2 separate regions of the Homo sapiens genome follow, and region 1 is linked to region 2. The links are contacts of gene promoters, found by promoter capture Hi-C in blood cells and fetal thymus (Javierre and others, 2016). All regions are on one chromosome and are shown on one strand. Each heading gives the region's core, a stretch centred on a gene start or on the middle of the fragment in contact. The rest is flanking DNA. Distances are from core to core; before and after follow the strand shown.

The links. The method cuts DNA at HindIII sites, captures the fragments that hold promoters and counts their contacts. A CHiCAGO score of 5 or more calls a contact.
Region 1: a contact is called between the fragment with the promoter of TLX2 here and a fragment that was not itself captured in region 2, in 4 of 17 cell types (naive CD8 T cells, naive CD4 T cells, non-activated CD4 T cells and 1 more). The highest score is 8.9, in naive CD8 T cells.

The regions. Positions count from the first base shown.
Region 1 is chr2:74,511,786-74,516,207 of GRCh38, forward strand. It overlaps TLX2 (T cell leukemia homeobox 2), which reads left to right and starts at 2,665. Exons shown (of 3, transcript NM_016170.5): 1 at 2,665-3,421; 2 at 3,848-4,085; 3 at 4,188-4,422. The coding sequence starts at 3,022. The coding sequence ends at 4,404. RefSeq lists enhancers at 983-1,651, 3,901-4,402, 4,403-4,422 and silencers at 1,526-1,585, 2,623-2,722, 3,303-3,372. The HindIII fragment of the contact is 6,557 bases long and covers 1-4,422 here.
Region 2 is chr2:73,777,167-73,782,005 of GRCh38, forward strand. DUSP11 (dual specificity phosphatase 11) reads right to left here and starts at 2,937. Exons shown (of 9, transcript NM_003584.3): 1 at 2,708-2,937; 2 at 1,135-1,210. The coding sequence starts at 2,808. RefSeq lists enhancers at 2,429-2,578, 2,709-2,758, 2,839-2,908. The HindIII fragment of the contact is 2,270 bases long and covers 335-2,604 here.

The DNA.
Region 1 (4,422 bases), core at 1,415-3,914, 740 kb after region 2:
ACTCCTAACCTGCACACCAGCCCTCTTCAGAGATTATATTTCTTTGCTGTCTCCCTAGGTTTCCTGCTCCCATCTGGAGGAATCCAGCCCTTGGTACCAAGGAAGTTTTTTTTGTTGTTGTTTGTTTGTTTGTTTTTTTTGAGATGGAGTCTTGCTCTGTTTCCCCAGACTGGAATGCAGTGGTGATCTCCGCTCACTGAAACCTCTGCCTCCCTGGTTCAAGTGATTCTCCTGCCTCAGCCTCCCCAGTAGCTGAGATTACAGGCACCTGCCAACATGCCCAGCTAATTTTTTTGTATTTTTAATAGAGACGGGGTTTCACCATGTTGGCCAGGCTGGTCTTGAACTCCTGACATCAGGTGATCCGTCCCCTCTTGGCATTCCAAAGTGGTGGGATTACAGGCATGAGCCACTGCTCCCGGCCTGAAGATTTGGACTAAACAGGTTCATGCTTCCTTGTAGCCCTCTCTACTGCTGAGAAAAGTGCATGGGTTTCTGTAAAGAGACGGGAGGTGATAATGTCTGTCTTCTCCATCAAGATGAAAATACATCTGCTAAATTGGTAGGAGCCCCCACCCTCTTTCAGAACGGGCTGTTAGCAGGGCTGAGGAGGGGCTGGACAAATTGGATAGTAGAGTGGTCAAGGTGGGGGAGGTTGACACTTTTTTTTTTTTTTCAGACAGAGTCTTGCTGTGTTGCCCAGGCTGGAGTGCAGTGGCGCGATCTCGGCTCACTGCAAGCTCCACCTCCCGGGTTCATGCCATTCTCCTGCCTCAGCCTCCCAAGTAGCTGGGACTACAGGCACCCGCCACCACGCCCAGCTAATTTTTGTATTTTTAGTAGAGATGGGTTTCACCGTGTTAGCCAGGATGGTCTCAATCTCCTGACCTCGTGATCCACCCGCCTCGGCCTCCCAAAGTGCTGGTATTACAGGCGTGAGCCACCGCGCCTGGCAGGTTGACACATATTAATGCCCACTATTCCTCCCACTGCCCTCTGTCCCATTTATGGTTCACCTCCTCTAGATATAAGGCTTCAGAGAACACTGAAGGGCTGGTGGACAGAGCTCACCCTTCTTTCTCTTCTTTATCTTTCTGCCCAGATGCCCAAATATCATTCCTGGTTCCCAGGGGAGAAAAGACCCCTTCACCCTGCCCCAGGCGCCAGGCTGCCAGCCCATCTGCTGGGGAGAAAGGAGGGGGCAGAGTCTTTCCCAGGGGATCCTGGAGAATCAGTTTGAAGATCAGTGCTCCCAGGGAGATCCAGCTAGTAGACTTACAAAGCATTTCGGTTCACACGGGAACCAGCAGGATGGAGCTGAACAGCGGGGTGGGCTCGGGACGAGGGTAGAGGGCTGGCACAGCAGGGTAAGGTCCTTTGGCCACCACGTGTCAGAGGTAGGCTGAGCTGCTCGTTGGTGCCCACCCGCCACCGCCACCGCAGGATGGTAGAAGCGCCCCCCTCTCTGAGCCCAGTCTCACCGGCTCAGAGGCGCCAGGGCCCCCCCGGGGGCCGGGGCGGGCCGGGGAAGGTAATGTAATTCCGGCCCAGCTAACCCGATTACCGCGGCCTGCACCGGGCAGGGCGGCGGCGGGGGCGGGTCTAAGGCTCAGGGGCCCGCCCGCGGGGGTCCCATCCCCGGGAAGGACGCAGAGTTCACGCACTCCCGGCTCCTGGATTCATGGCCAGAGGTCACAAGGTCACCAAGCGGCTTAGGTCTTTCCCCACCTCCCTTCTCTGACAGCTCCAGGCCATTTTTTGAGTTTGGGTGGGGTAAAATGTTTATGGGAAACAAGGCGGCCAGGATCCAACCAAGGCCTCAGTGAGGTCCCACGTGTCCCCCGTGGCGAGATTTCGCCCTCCCGCCGTTGAGGAGGAAGAGTGTGAGAACAGACTTCCTAGGCACAGAATGGAGGGGCAGAGTCCTGCATTGAGGACTCCCTGCACTTGGGGTCCGGGGGTAAGTGCCAGCCCCAAGAACCCGCCGGCCTGATTTGGCCCGGGTTGAGCCATGGTCCGTTTTACACGGATTTTGGAAAATCGAAATTCTAGGAAACACAGGACACCAATTACCGGTGCGCATGAACAGGGCTGGGGGGACCTACAGGAGAGGCCAGAAGGCGCACCACGATCGCCAGCCCAAAGCGGCCGTTCCCCGCCCTTAGCCCCTGCCGTCCCCTTCCCACACCTGTTCTCTTCCTGGGCCTGCAGCTCACCGGGCGCCGTTCCCCAGCCGCTTCTTACGCAGCCGGGAAACCACAACGAGATTTGGTCTTCGAGAGCATTTAGGCGGGGACCACAACGAATCCGGGAGTTGGCCAGAAGGATCCATCGAGAGGCGAAGAGTGGGGGCTGGGGGAGGAGGCACCTGCGGAGGAAGCCGGTGAGGCGGAGGCAGCCCAAAGGCGGAGGCCGCCCAAAGGCGGAGGCCAGCAAGGATGGAGGCGCGGTGAGCATCTCCGCTGACTCAGCGGCCCATGCTCGGGCCCCTCCCGCGCTGAGCCTGGCTCCTAACACCCTGGCCCCCTGTCCCCCTCCCCGCACATCTCCGCCAGCCAGCCTTCCCCCTGCGCTTGGCGCAAACAGGCGTCCCTTCCCCTTTAACTGCTGGGCCCCGCCCCTGCCCTACCCCCAGCCCCCACTACCCACCCGGGCCGATCCGTCAGTCACTGCCCCAGCCGGAGCTGGCCAACCCTCTCCACCCGGGACTTGGGCAGCGGCGCCGGCAGCCCAGCGTCTATTTGCGCTTAAGAGCCAGCAAGGAAGCTCCAGGGGCCCCAGCTGGCCGTGCTCCCCCGGGATGCAAGTCCCTGCGCTGACGCCCGGCAGCGGCTGGCACGGGCGCGGCTGCTCCGGGTGCACAGGGATGCTGCTGTTTCGGGGACCCCGGCGCCCTGCCTTGGCCAGCCCCGCGGGCCCCTGAGGCCACTCTCCGGAGCGCGCCGCCGCTGGGCTTCTGGCGCTGCCTGAGGCATCCTCCCCAACCACCGAACCTCCGGCGGTTCTCCTCGGCCCAGACCGATGGAGCCGGGGATGCTGGGTCCACACAACCTCCCACACCACGAGCCAATCAGCTTCGGCATCGATCAGATCCTGAGCGGCCCCGAAACCCCAGGGGGCGGTCTAGGCCTGGGTCGCGGGGGCCAGGGTCATGGGGAGAATGGGGCGTTCTCGGGTGGATACCACGGAGCCTCGGGCTACGGTCCCGCCGGCTCACTTGCCCCGCTGCCCGGCAGCTCCGGAGTGGGCCCAGGCGGCGTGATCCGCGTCCCTGCGCACCGCCCGCTGCCTGTGCCGCCGCCCGCTGGGGGGGCGCCTGCAGTGCCTGGGCCCTCGGGTTTGGGCGGCGCCGGAGGCCTAGCGGGACTCACCTTCCCCTGGATGGACAGCGGCCGCCGCTTTGCCAAGGACCGGCTCACGGGTGAGGTTGTCTGACCCCTCCAGCGTCACGCCCGACTCTGACCCCGTCTCCTCATTTCTTAGCTTTCTGCTCCAACTCAAGGACCCCTTTCACACCTCCCACTAGATCCTCCCAGGGGATCCTCCCCCAACTCAAATCTCTGGGTCCTGCCTCCGAGAGGTGATGGGGAGGGAGCTGCCGTCGGTGCCCGCGCCCTCCTCTGTAGTCCCACTGTCCACGCGTGGGGAGGGGAGGGTGAAGTTACAGGGGACGTCTCCCTCGCATCCCAGGGGAAGGGCCTTTCTTGGCTATAGGGCTCGGCTGATGCTTAGGGCCCGGGTAAGGACAGGGCGCGGGAGTTCTGCGGCCTGGACAGCCGCGCGGCCTTCTCAGTGGCACCTCGGGCCACCCTGCAAATCCTGCCCTGGTCTTTCTTCCTCCCGGTAGCTGCGCTCTCGCCCTTCTCTGGGACGCGCCGCATAGGCCACCCCTACCAAAACCGGACCCCTCCGAAGCGGAAGAAGCCGCGCACGTCCTTCTCCCGCTCACAGGTGCTGGAGTTGGAGCGGCGCTTCCTGCGCCAGAAGTACCTGGCCTCTGCGGAGAGGGCGGCGCTGGCCAAGGCCTTGCGCATGACCGACGCACAGGTCAAAACGTGGTTCCAGAACCGACGCACCAAGTGGCGGTGAGGCGCGGCGCGGGCGAGGGCGGACTGGGGTTCCCGAGCAGGGCCTGGTGAGAAGCGACGCGGCGGGCGCCCCGCTGACCCCGCGTCTCCCTCCCTTAGGCGCCAGACGGCGGAGGAGCGCGAGGCCGAGCGGCACCGCGCGGGCCGGCTGCTCCTGCATCTGCAGCAGGACGCGTTGCCACGGCCGCTGCGGCCGCCGCTGCCCCCGGACCCTCTCTGCCTGCACAACTCGTCGCTCTTCGCGCTGCAGAACCTGCAGCCCTGGGCCGAGGACAACAAAGTGGCTTCAGTGTCCGGGCTCGCCTCGGTGGTGTGAGCGACGCCCGTCCGATCG
Region 2 (4,839 bases), core at 220-2,719:
GACACGGTTTCAGTGTTGCCCAGGCTGGTCTAAAACTCCTGGACTCAAGCGATACACCCACCTTGCCTCCCAAAGTACTGGATTACAAACATGATCCAACAGGCCTGGCCTGAAATGACTCATTTTTAAGCCCAGACATGCAGAGAAGCTGACACAGCAGTTGAAAAAGGAAATCTGATCTATAAGTCACAAATTAAGTAAATTCCCAAAACGTTTCAAGTAGGCTTCTCCTGATACTAATCTGAGCTATGCTGGGGAAGTCTAATAAGAAAGACATGGAATCTAGAAAACAATTATTTGTCTTCACCTTCTCATCTTTTTTATGGCTGTCAAAAGCTTTCCCCTCCTATCCCTCCTATTCCTTTCCTAGTTTAAACAAAAATACAATCTTCAGATTTTCCCCACTGAAATCCTGACCTTGATGATCCGGGGGATATTTCTGATTGTGACCATGGAAGGAAAGGAGTCCCACTGGCATTCAGTGGGTAAGGGTTACAAATTCTAAACAACTTGCCAAATTCAGGACAGTCCTACAAATGTGTCCCACATCCTGAATGGCTTTTGGATGTCCTATTCAAGATTAATATAGATAAAAAGCTGTTCATATTTAGCTTGGCCTCAGAACCTAACTCCATTTCACAAATAAACACAAAGTATTTTTTGTACAATACTAATATATATTGAATTTTCCAGGATAATAATCACCTTATCAACCAAATGAAGATTATACTTTGTTATATTTGGAAATCTATTACAGAAACTCCTACCACTAAAGCAATACAACCCACCTAGATCAGTCTACATTTGTAATTCTTGAATTCATGGCGCAGGCAACTATTACTCTATGTCTTTTAATGTAGTCATGTCCAAACATTTATATATTGAAATAAATATTATTTTATTATAAATTACTTTTATTTTATTTTTTATATTATAGTTAGGGTGTTAATTGGTATTTTTGTTTAAAATATGAAGTAGGTTGTATGTACCTATGAACTTCATTTCAGGATAGTAAAGGGGTCATTACAAAGTATTTGCTATAAAAAGAGAAAATGGAATGTGATAGAGTGGAGAGCAGTGTTCTGCATGGTGAACTCAGATGCCTGAAAGAATACTGAATTAACTTTTGCTTACCTTTTGCAAAGGAACTTTGAAAGCAATGAAACGAGTCCCAGGCATCCGCTGTCCAACTGGGAGATAGTCTTTCCACCTATTAGATATATTTTTTGTTAGCCAAATTGTATGTTAGCCTTGTTTCCTTGCACAAAATAAGACTTTTTGAAAATGGGAATCATAGCCCGCACAACATGTCCTCTCTCCTCTCTGCTTTGCATTTCGCCACTCCACTTATTAAACCCCACCAAGTAACGACCTATACCGTCCTTCTCTCCTGTTTCCCCATCATAAAAACGAACACAAGCCAACACAACAGTACAACTCAAATAAGGCCTATATAAAACCGGAGATACCCAGAACTTCTGTATCCCTGTTAAACTTGGCCCAGTACCAGATACTAAAGTGCCATTAATACAAACATATTCACTGAAATAATTTAAATTCAATTATTTCACTTCACGCTTTTAGTTTTCATACGACTGATGCCATAAAGTTCAATTAGTAGGAAACTTCAAGTTCATATTTTAAGAGAAAACCTGCTAGAAGAGGGACTGTGAACTTCACTTAATAATGCTAGGAACTGGCCGGGCGCGGTGGCTCACGTCTGTTAATCCCGGCAATTTGGGAGGCTGAGGCAGGTGGATCACCTGAGGTCAGGAGTTCGAGACCAGCCTGACCCACATGGTGAAACCCCATCTCTACTAAAAATACAAAAAAAATTAGCCGGGTGTGGTGGCGGGCGCCTGTAATCCCAGCAACTTGGGCGGCTGAGGGAGGAGAATCGCTTGAATCCGGGAGGCGGAGGTTGCAGTGAGCCGAGATTGGACCATTGCACTCCAGCCTGGCGGAGAAGAGCAAAAATCCATCCCAAAAACAAAAACAAAAAAACGGATTGGAAGAAAACAAACAGGAGATTCACTAATTAGAACCCCACTGCAATAAGTCAGGCAAGACCTGTATTAGGGTACTGACAGAAAGTGACAGTCAAAAGATAGTAGATAAAATGAAGAGGATTTATTGAGGTATGAGATGGTGGAGGATGGTCTCAAGGAGTAAAAACAGTTCAATGCACCTACGTGCAAAGTCTCAAAATTAATCATTTGTACGTATAAAGGAGTTATCTTTCAAATGAGGCCTGTTAGGAAGTAACAAAGTATGCTCTTTGTGATTTCTGGAAACAATACAAACCAACTTTCCATGTGAGATCTCAGGGCGCTACTACTGCTGGGTTCCTAACTCAAACCATTACACTTTCCGTGCCAACGTAACAAGGAATTGAGGAGGTTCCATTTTGGGAATTAAGGAGTGTCCCCAACAGTAACAGTCCCACCTTAAAGCAATCCTTCCGTATTTTACCTAAGAGCAATGGCCAGAACCTCCCTTTTACAAGAATATGGAGAAATCACAGGACATCACAGACATCGCCCCTTTCAGCTACAGCGGGTGGCGCAGAGGGTCAAAGCCTCAAAGCAAGCGGCGGACAAGTCAAGCTTGCGATGGCAACGGCGAGAGGCAGAGACCACAAACGATGAAGCCCAGACCCAGAAGCCACGAGCTGGAAAGGCCACGCCAAGGGACCAAGACATACTACCTTTCGGGGATGTGGTTTCCGCCCTTCTTCTTGGCTGAGGAGCGTCCTGAAAAGTCGCGTCTCCGGCCCCAGCCACTGCGGGGATGATGCCACTGGCTCATGTGGGTCCCAAGAAGCCGCCCACCCAATGCCAAGTCGGCCAAAAGCGCCAGTCCGGCGCCCTCAATGCCAGGATAAGACCCTAAACAGGAAAAGACTCGGCAGCCACCTACGCCGCGCTCCAGCGTCTCGCTATTGCGCATGTGCCACCGCCGGTCGTGATGGCGTAGCCACGCTGGCTTACTGAGACTCCTGATCTGTAAACAGGACTTTGGTGGCTACAGCGCCCTCTTTAGCCAGAGGCCAGTAGCACAGGTCAATAAGGGCGTGTATGCACCCTTCAGAATTCAAACAGTGAGGCACAGGGAAGTCCCTCTGCCCGATCCGCCCCACGCCCCGGTTCCTTGTGTGTTCTTCTAGATATTTACCAGCGCTTACATTCACATTTTGCATATTTTGTATACATATTTACTTTCACATATATGTATATCCTCTATTTTTATACAAAAGGAGTAACTGTACATATTCTACAGTATACCTTAAACACTGATTATCCCAGTCAATTTATGCATACATAGATTCTATTTTTAATGGCTATAGGCAATTTACTTGCTTATGAGTAACATAATTAAAAGTACCATAACGTATTTAGCCAGTTCAATATTAATGGACCTTTAGTTGTTTTCAGGTTCTTTTCAAATCTTGTTACAGACAATGCTGCAATGTGAACATCCTTATACATATATACAACTATATCTAAATTCCTAGAAGTAGAATGTCTGGAATGAAACACATACAAACTTAAAATTTGGAAAGATACTACCTAATTACCCTCCAAAAATAATGTAGAAACATACACTCCCATCAAAGCCAAACTTTTATTGGGTTCCTATCACATACCAGGTATCATGCTAGAGGTGGACAGAATGTATTTAAGTTTTAGCAAATACAAAAAATAACTGAGAGTGGAGCTCAAGTCCAAGGTTTCCACACAGTCTCAAGCATAAAGATCTGTACCCGTTAGAAAAACGTTCAATTCTGCTAAAAGTGGAACTACAAAGGACAGCATACCCTATAGCAGCTTTGAAAATAGAATAGAGTACTAAATTCCAGATTAAACTGTAAGTAATTATGATTGCAGACTTTTTTTTTTTTTTTTTGAGACCCAGTCTCACTCTGCCACCAGGCTGGAGTGCAGTGGTGCCATCTCAGCTCACTGCAACCTCCGCCTCCCGGGTTCAAGCAATTCTCCCTGCCTCAACCTCCTGAGTAGCTGGGACTACAGGTGCATGCCACGACTCCCAGCCAATTTTTTGTATTTTAGTAGAGACAGGGTTTCTCCATGTTGGCCAGGATGGTCTCGATGTCTTGACCTCATGATCAGCACTCCTCGACCTCCGAAAGTGCTGGGATTACAGGCTTGAGCCACCGCACCTGGCCAATGGCAGATTTTTGAAAGTAATTTTTACTTCTTAGTTTCTAATTTATGAAAGTAACTTACATATATTTTTAGTAATCTTTGCAACCATTTCAGAGCTGGGTAAACCAAGGATAAGAAAGGTCAGAGCTATTGAATAAATGAATATTAATAAAGCTAGACTGCTAGCTTTATTAACATTTTTGAGACAGTACTTTTCCAACCAGTTTTAAATACATAAACATTTACAATTCTGAAAATTTCCACATCATTAAAAATGTGTCAATATTCATAAATTGTTCATTGGAAAAAGAAAAAGACAGGATAGCAGAACATAACAAACCTACAATTAGGAACATTTAATTATTTGTTGTTGTTGTTGTTGAGATGGAGTCTCTCTCTGTCACCCAGGCTAGAGTGCAGTGGCGCGATCTCAGCTCACTGCAACCTCTGCCTCCTGGGTTCAAGCAATTCTCCTGCCTCAGCCTCTTGAGTAGCTGCGACTACAGGCGTGTGCCACCATGCCCGGCTAATTTTTGTATTTTTAGTAAAGACAAGGTTTCACCAAGTTGGCCAGGCTGGTCTTGAACTCCTGACCTCAAGTCATCTGCTCTCTTCGGCCTCCCAAAGTGCTGGGATGACAGGCGTGAGCCCCTGCGCCCAGCCCACATTCAAA